2 separate regions of the Homo sapiens genome follow, and region 2 is linked to region 1. Evidence: promoter capture Hi-C in human tissues and cell types (Jung and others, 2019). All regions are on one chromosome and are shown on one strand. The core of a region is centred on a gene start or on the middle of the fragment in contact, and the rest is flanking DNA. Distances in the headings are between cores, read along the strand shown.

Region 1 (4,266 bases), core at 316-2,815:
ACTCCAGAATTCCTTGCCTGGTGGCCTCCACATGCACTTCCAGGGCCTGCTTGGGCCTCTTCTATGGGTCTGTCCTGAGTGTTGATAGAACCACTGATGTGAGTACCTGGGCTTGAGCCGTGGCCTGGAGATCCTGTTGACTGTAGCATGGAGGGGGCTTGTGCAGCTGAATGTCTGTATGCAGGTGGTGGGAGTTCTGGAATATGATGGAGCTGGAGGTGGGAAGAGAAGTAGGCTTGGGGCAGCTCTCTCATGCCACCTCATTCTGGCCAAAACTCAGGTCAAACTGTGAAGAGTCTAAATGTGAATCTGCCCTTCAAGGTGGCTACAAAGGTATCTTTGTCAAGGTAGGAGACCTTGTGGCCTCCACGTGCACTTCCAGGGCCTGCTTGGGCCTCTTCTACGGGTCTGTCCTGAGTCTTCTATGAATCTGCCCTTCAGGGCAGATTCATATTTAGACTCTTCACAGTTTGACCTGAGTTTTGGCCAGAATAAGGTGACATTTAGTTTGTTGGCTTGATGGATGACTTAAATATTTAGACATATGGTGTGTAGGCCTGCATTCCTACTCTTGCCTTTTTTTTTGCCCCTCCAGTGTTTTGGGTAGTTTTGCTCCCCTACAGCCAAAGGCAAACAGATAAGTTGGAGGTCTGGAGTGGCTACATAATTTTACACGACTGCAATTCTCTGGCTGCACTTCACAAATGTATACAAACTAAATACAAGTCCTGTGTTTTTATCACAGGGAGGCTGATCAATATAATGAAATTAAAAGGGGGCTGGTCCATATTGTTCTGTGTTTTTGTTTGTTTGTTTCTTTTTTTGTTTTTGTGGCCTCCTTCCTCTCAATTTATGAAGAGAAGCAGTAAGATGTTCCTCTCGGGTCCTCTGAGGGACCTGGGGAGCTCAGGCTGGGAATCTCCAAGGCAGTAGGTCGCCTATCAAAAATCAAAGTCCAGGTTTGTGGGGGGAAAACAAAAGCAGCCCATTACCCAGAGGACTGTCCGCCTTCCCCTCACCCCAGCCTAGGCCTTTGAAAGGAAACAAAAGACAAGACAAAATGATTGGCGTCCTGAGGGAGATTCAGCCTAGAGCTCTCTCTCCCCCAATCCCTCCCTCCGGCTGAGGAAACTAACAAAGGAAAAAAAAATTGCGGAAAGCAGGATTTAGAGGAAGCAAATTCCACTGGTGCCCTTGGCTGCCGGGAACGTGGACTAGAGAGTCTGCGGCGCAGCCCCGAGCCCAGCGCTTCCCGCGCGTCTTAGGCCGGCGGGCCCGGGCGGGGGAAGGGGACGCAGACCGCGGACCCTAAGACACCTGCTGTACCCTCCACCCCCACCCCACCCACCTCCCCCCAACTCCCTAGATGTGTCGTGGGCGGCTGAACGTCGCCCGTTTAAGGGGCGGGCCCCGGCTCCACGTGCTTTCTGCTGAGTGACTGAACTACATAAACAGAGGCCGGGAACGGGGCGGGGAGGAGGGAGAGCACAGGCTTTGACCGATAGTAACCTCTGCGCTCGGTGCAGCCGAATCTATAAAAGGAACTAGTCCCGGCAAAAACCCCGTAATTGCGAGCGAGAGTGAGTGGGGCCGGGACCCGCAGAGCCGAGCCGACCCTTCTCTCCCGGGCTGCGGCAGGGCAGGGCGGGGAGCTCCGCGCACCAACAGAGCCGGTTCTCAGGGCGCTTTGCTCCTTGTTTTTTCCCCGGTTCTGTTTTCTCCCCTTCTCCGGAAGGCTTGTCAAGGGGTAGGAGAAAGAGACGCAAACACAAAAGTGGAAAACAGGTAAGAGGCTCTCCAGTGACTTACTTGGGCGTTATTGTTTTGTTTCGAGGCCAAGGAGGCTTCGGGAAGTGCTCGGTTTCGGGGACTTTGATCCGGAGCCCCACATCCCCACCACTTGCAACTCAGATGGGACCGGAGGCGGTGTTAAATGGGGAGACGATGTCCTAGTACGAGCTCTGGTGACCCCAGGACTCTGCGCTGCTGCGCTTGGGGCTTGCCCGACGGTGGAGACCGGGGAGCATCTCTGGGCGTGGAGACCCGGGCGCAGTACCCCGGGCTCAGAGGGGTCGGGGGTTCCCGGGCGTGCTGAGGGCGCTGCTGCCGGGTGGGGAGAGCTGCAGGTCCGGCACCGAGCGCTGCTTTGTTCGGAGGGCCCTGAGCTGGCTAGAAACCCTTCTGGTTGCAGGTCGGCCAGTACCTACGGAGACAAATGCCAGCACTGAGTCTTCACTCGGTTCTTAAGAAGCTGGTCTGTTCTGACCTGGGAATTGGCTATATGCTCCCCGGGACTGGAGCGGCACAGTCCCGGACTGTGAATCCGGGAACTCGAGTTGGAGGTGTCCCAAACGGTCCGTGGTGCTATTGCTCACTAGAGGCCTTGGGTCTTTGTTTGACCTGAGGGGTAGGGAGGTCCTGCCTACAGTCTCCGTGCGCTCAGCTGAGCTGGTGTCCCTGGCGCAGAGCGCGGACGAGTTTTGTTTCCTTTTCTTTTTCTTTTTTTTCTTTCCTTTAAGTCTCGGTCTGTCGCCCAGGCTGGAGTGCAATGGAACGATCTCCGCTCACTGCAACCTCCGCCTCCCGGGTTCAAGCGATTCTCCTGCCTCAGCCTCCTGAGTAGCTGGGATTACAGGCGCGTCACCACATCCAGCTAATTTTTGTATTTTTAGTAGAGACGGGGTTTCAACTTGTTGGCCAGGCTGGTCTCGAACCCTCGACCTCAGGTGATCCACCGGCCTCGGCCTCCCCAAGTGCTGGGATTATAGGCGTGAGCCACCGCGCGCGGCCGAGTTTTGTTTCTTTTAAAAACAAGACTTAGGAGAGCCTGCGGAGACCCGGAGGTGGGGTGCCCAATCCTCCCTCTCCCACGTTCCCTGCAGCCCCATCTTCCAGACCGTTGCTGCTGGTCTCTCGGGGCAGCTTCTGCCTGGGCGCAGATGGGGAAGCTGGGCCGAGGTGGTGCCGTGGAATGACCGGGAGTAACCCCGGCGGGCGGCGCAGAACTCGGAGCTCCGCCGCGGGGCTGGGCTGGGCTCTGCCGTGAGGGTGGGGGTGCTGGGCGCGCGGGCTGCGGTGGCCCCCGGAGACTGGCCCGCAGCGCCTCCTGGCCGGAGGACCTAGGAATCGGCCGGCTCTACTAGGTGTCTTTGCTCGCGGTTCCGACTGTGAATCCGGTGAAGACCGGTGGTTGCAGACGGGGAGGAACTATGAGGTTGAGGCGAAAGCCCGTTTTGTTTTTTTTTTTTTGTTTTTTTGGTTTTTTTTTTTGTTAGCGTGTTTGCCAACTCCCAGGCCATTGGTAAAGCAGGAAGGTTCTTGGGGCGGCGGACGGTGCCAGGGTTATGTGTAGGTGCCTCTTTAGGTATATCTTTTATCAAAAAGAAGCAAAGAAATAAGATTAAAAATAAACAAAGAAAAAAGTTGTCTGGCACTGGCAGTAATTGGCCTGCCTTTGCAGCACTGATACCATTAGCTTTTAAAATCCGACTTTTCATTGACACTTCAAGAAGAGAATGGGTAGTATATACACATTCATCTCATAGTGGACAAATTTCATATTTAAAAAAACCTTCTGGGTACTGAAATCAGCAAGTCACTTGCCCTCCATGGCCGAATCCCTGCTTCCCACGAAGAGAACCTCACAAAAATTTCCCCCAAGTTAAAGAGTGGAATTTTCTTGATTTTTTTTTCTTTTTTTTTTAACGGCCGTAGTTTAGAACCCAGACTTAAATTATGATCTTCTTTTCAAACAAAACTTAAAGTCCTTAAGTTTTCATCTCCCCTTTTATTTCAACCTATTCTTCTCATACCTACCACAAAAATAATGGAGGCTTTCTGTTGAGAAACTTTCCGTTTCTGTTGAGAGTATCATTCTCTTGAGAAACTTTCTCCTAAATCAGAGAAAGTATGGAAGCATGGAAAGTATTCCTGAGTAGAACCTCTACAGATATTACAATATTTTTCAAATACAAAGTTTCCATTGTCAGCCTGTTTCCCAAGTGCTTCCACAAACCATTAAATAATTCCACAAACCATTAAAATAATTAATGCTAGGGAATTTTAGGAAAACATTGGTTTACAATCAGAAGGACCGGGGAAGTGGGTCTTCAGCCTTCACGATGACTACAAGCCATTTAAGGGACTAGAATTGCTACTGTTGTCAGAGCAATTTAGGAGTCTGTATTTGAGCACCCGCATAGTGTTCCAGAATGACATATCTGACTGTAACCTGGACACGTGTGATATGTTGTCTCCCCTGCAGAT
Region 2 (4,194 bases), core at 1,686-4,185, 610 kb before region 1:
CTTAATTCTCCACTGCTCAGATGCTTGTTGCCAGTTACTCAACACTTATTAAGGGCTTTCTATGTGAAAAGCACTAGCCAGGCAATAAGGGCTTAATAGCTAACAAGAGACTCAGTCCTGCTCTACACCACTTGAAGACTGCTTCCCGAAAAGTCTTATGCTTGCTATGCTTTCGATCTCTTCCATCTTTAACCACTGACTCTCTAATATTTCTAAAACTCAATTATCTTATGACTATAGTGTTCTAAAACATGCAGAACCACCCCTCCCCACTACTGAAGACCAGTCCATTATTATTTTTCAAGGCTCTCAGAATCTGATCCTATTCCACAGTACAACTTCCCCTTGCCATACGTTATGTTCTAGACTAAAAACTGTATCTCACTACTACCTTTATGGACTCACAGAGTATGGGAAAGGAGAGAGAAGAAGCAAATGTTGTCTTGGTAGTTGAAAAAAAAATGTGTGCTAATAAATTTGCCATTTATCCTGAGGAAAATGATTTAACTGATTCAAGGTGAATAAGTTAAAAAACAAAAAACACAGCAAAGCTAACATGTCATCACTAAAAATAAATCAAGCCAAAATTACTTTTTCTCCTTTTTTGAGTAAATTAACTGACAGCTCACGGAATTATTTGGGCACAATATTACTAAAATAATAAAATTTGGTATTAGCTTAAGTGTCAACTTGGAGAAAAAACATCTAGGGAATTACTTTAGTTCAATATTATGTCATCTTCAAAATTATTATACATTAGATGACTGTAGAGAATATGCTTATGAAATAACTAATTCAATGAGCTTTAAAATTTTTTCAAAATATAAATATCAAGTAAATTTTTAGATAATTTTAAGACGGGAAATTTGGGCCAAATCTATTAAGATGAAACTAAAAAAGGGTAAATGTAATAGTCTTCATTTGCATTACATATAACATTGAGTTATTTTTAAAAACCATAAACTGGCTGGGTGTGGTGGCTCATGGCAGTAATCCCTGCACTTTGGGAGGCCCAGCCAGGTGGATCACTTGAGGTCAGGAGTTTGAGACCAGCCTGGCCAGCATGGTGAAACCCCGTCTCTACTAAAAATACAAAAATTAGCCAGGCGTGGTGGCATGCACCTGTAATCCCAGCTAACTCAGGAGGCTGAGGCAGGAGAGTCGCTTGAACATGGGAGGCAGAGGTTGCAGTGAGCTGAGACTGAGCCACTGCACTCCAGCCTGGACAACAGAGTAAGACTCTGTCTCAAAAACAAAACAAAACAAAACAAAAAAAACCAAAACCATAAACTGCCTAACAAAAGAAAAAGACAATTTGACATAATGCCGTGAAAAAAGATCTAATGGATTAGGGTAGCTACAAGCTCAATATTGATCAGCAGTGCTAAGTCATACTATTAGAAATAGCATAGCCAAATTACTGTCCTTTGCTGGTCAGAGGTCATGTGTTCCACTCTAAGACCAACCTTTAAGAAAAACACTGACATACTAGACAGCCATAGGAGATTATAAAGACTTGGAAAAATTAAATTTTAACAGGGGCAGCTAATAACAGAATATATGGTCTGGAAAAACAGGGCAAGAAAGTTTTTAATAAAGGATTATCGTGTGAACATGAGTGAGGAAACGTAATTCTGTGTTTATTCAGATGGGAAAATTTAAGGGAAACAATGTGAGTCAACTTAAGAAAAATCTTCTAACCAAGAGCTGTCCAACAATGAAACAGGCTGCTTTCTAAGACAGTAAACTTCACATTAAAAGTTCTTCAGGCACATAAGTGGCAACTACCTGCAGAGATAGTGTACTAAGAACTGTATACTGTGTGGCAGATGGAGTAATTTCTTTTCTTTTTTGGATTAGACTACACTGTGTTAATAATTTTGTAAGTAAAGAAATTCTGATATTGAGGGGAAACCCCTTTGGCCCCTCTAAAGATATCATGAGTCATTCTGAAGAATATTTTTAAAGACAGCAACTTGAAAATTAAGAACATTCCATTCGTTTCAAGTGTGATGCGGTTTGGCACAGTAAATATTTGCTGTATAGCTTATGTTTACTAGGATAGTAGAAAATATGGCTCTGGTATCTTCTTGAATTTTTTTTTAATTTTTGTAGGTACATAGTAGGTGTGTATGTTTACGCAGTATATGAGATGCTTTCATATAGGCATGCAATGTGTAATAATCACATCATGTAAAATGGGGTATTCATCCTGGGTTGGGTAATTTCTAAGATCTACTTCAACTAGAAAATTTTGACTATCACTCTTTAGAGGTAGGTAATAAAACATGGTAAGGAAGGAATTAAAATGGACAGAAGAAATGTTAGTGCTGAAGACTAAAATTAGCAAAATCTTTCAGACTTAGTATATTATAAATGAGTGCTTTTATAGGGCTCCAGGCAGACATCACATATACCATTCCAGTCAATTCTAGAATTGAGATTATGATTGCAATCAAAAGCCTACCTGATCAAAATGTCCTTCCCACAATACTAATGGAAATCCTGTATAGATGATTACCAGTGAAAGGTACTGAAATGCAAGCAACTATGATGAAATAACCTACGAGAAAATAAACTTACCCCCATCAAAATCACAAAATACACCTATTTTTTCAGGAACAGTAACATCCAAAGCTTTGACTTTATTATTATGCTTTGCTGCAAATGTGTTTTGTAGCCAGTTGTTGACATGGATACACCAACTAGTGTTTGTCTTTCCCAATTGGTCAAATTTCCCCAACGTTTTGTATGCTACTCCCACACTGTAGGATTTACAATCCTTCTGGGCCTTGACCTCCCAATAATGTTGTCCACTTTCAATAGCAGTGTCTCCTACAAAAGATCAGAAAGGTAGATTTGACTCATCTCTTCCTTATGAGTCACACAGTTTTACCTACCACTCGTCCCAAAAAAAGACACAAAAATTTTTATTCAAGTACTTTTCCTATAAGAATAATCATGTTAACACACAGACATTAAATGCTGAGTACCTGCTCTAACTTTACCTTTACGTTTAGTACTATTCTTGAATATAAAACGCTTCAGAGGTTTTCTTCCTTACTATCCCCCCTCCCGGCTTATATATAAAGATGTGGGAACACTACGTAAGCTGAAGTAGAGTTTTAAAAGTATCAATAATAATAAGACAATCTGAAAACTCCCCAAAGTAATTAGGCTTCAATTGGGAGAAATTTCTTGCAAAGATTTATTCAATATACAGGCAGTCACTTTGAGTGGAAAGTCCACCAGTGTGATTGTGATGCCTTTAATCTGAGATAATGAAAAACAATTATGTTTTGTCCTACCCAGCACTGTGTATGATTCTCCAGTAAAACGATCTCTACTGCCTCTTACTGCTGGTGGCCTGGAGCCTACAGATGTTCGTTTTGGGGATGGTGTACCACTTCTATATAAACAAAAAGAAAAAAGAAAAACAAATATTTTATACTGTAAATGTTTCATAAACTAAAACTAGAAATCATGGAAGGAACCTCTGAAAAGATTTCTAATTATGTTATAGAAATAACACCATTCAATTTGATCTGAACTAGTTAATTAAAGAGCGCTGTCAATTATAAACACTGAAATGTAAGAAGCTATCAATACAAAGCAGGCTGAAAACACTAATGGCATGCAGACTGAGCAAGGCTTATACAAAGAATACACGGCTGAAATAAGAAACAATGCTAAAATGTGACAAGATTTACTAAAGAAAAAAAAGAACTCAAGAAAGATAATGAGTTACAGCTTACATTTTTTTGCAGTTAAATGAAGGCAAAAATAGGTTTCTTCTTATAATCCTGACTAAATAACTCTTTTTATAAGCAGTGAGTATTTTTGCTCTGAATCTTACCTTCTTAAAAATAGAAATGGCGGCCAGGCACGGTGGCTCACACCTGTAATCCCAGCACTTTGGGAGGCGCCAAGGCAGGAGGATCACCTGAGGTCGGGAGTTCGAGACGAGCCTGACTAACGTGGAGAAACCCCATCTCTACTAAAAATACAAAATTAGTAGGGCGTGGTGGCACATGCCTGTAATCCCAGCTACTCGGGAGGCTGAGGCAGGAGAATCGCTTGAACCCAGGAGTCAGAGGTTGCGGGTGAGCCATGATTGCACCATTGCACTCCAGCCTAGGCAACAAGAGCAAAACTCTGTCTTAAAAAAAAAGGGACGGGGGGGCTGCACGCGGT

The links. Contacts are between HindIII fragments. The study calls those that stand out against the background at their distance.
Region 2: a contact is called between a fragment that was not itself captured here and the fragment with the promoter of ABCA1 in region 1, in 1 of the 25 tissues and cell types used here (dorsolateral prefrontal cortex).

Annotation. Positions count from the first base shown.
Region 1 is chr9:104,925,454-104,929,719 of GRCh38, reverse strand. ABCA1 (ATP binding cassette subfamily A member 1) reads left to right here and starts at 1,565. Exons shown (of 50, transcript NM_005502.4): 1 at 1,565-1,785. It overlaps LOC105376196 (a long non-coding RNA gene), which reads right to left and starts at 2,931. Exons shown (of 3, transcript NR_188620.1): 1 at 1,810-2,931; 2 at 1-212. RefSeq lists silencers at 1,406-1,595, 2,932-3,171 and enhancers at 1,796-1,875, 2,196-2,255. The HindIII fragment of the contact is 15,965 bases long and covers 1-4,266 here.
Region 2 is chr9:105,533,708-105,537,901 of GRCh38, reverse strand. It overlaps FSD1L (fibronectin type III and SPRY domain containing 1 like), which reads right to left. Exons shown (of 14, transcript NM_001145313.3): 11 at 3,309-3,409; 12 at 2,584-2,835. Among named protein-coding and RNA genes, the nearest start is that of FKTN, 22 kb to the left of the region's middle. The HindIII fragment of the contact is 5,852 bases long and covers 10-4,194 here.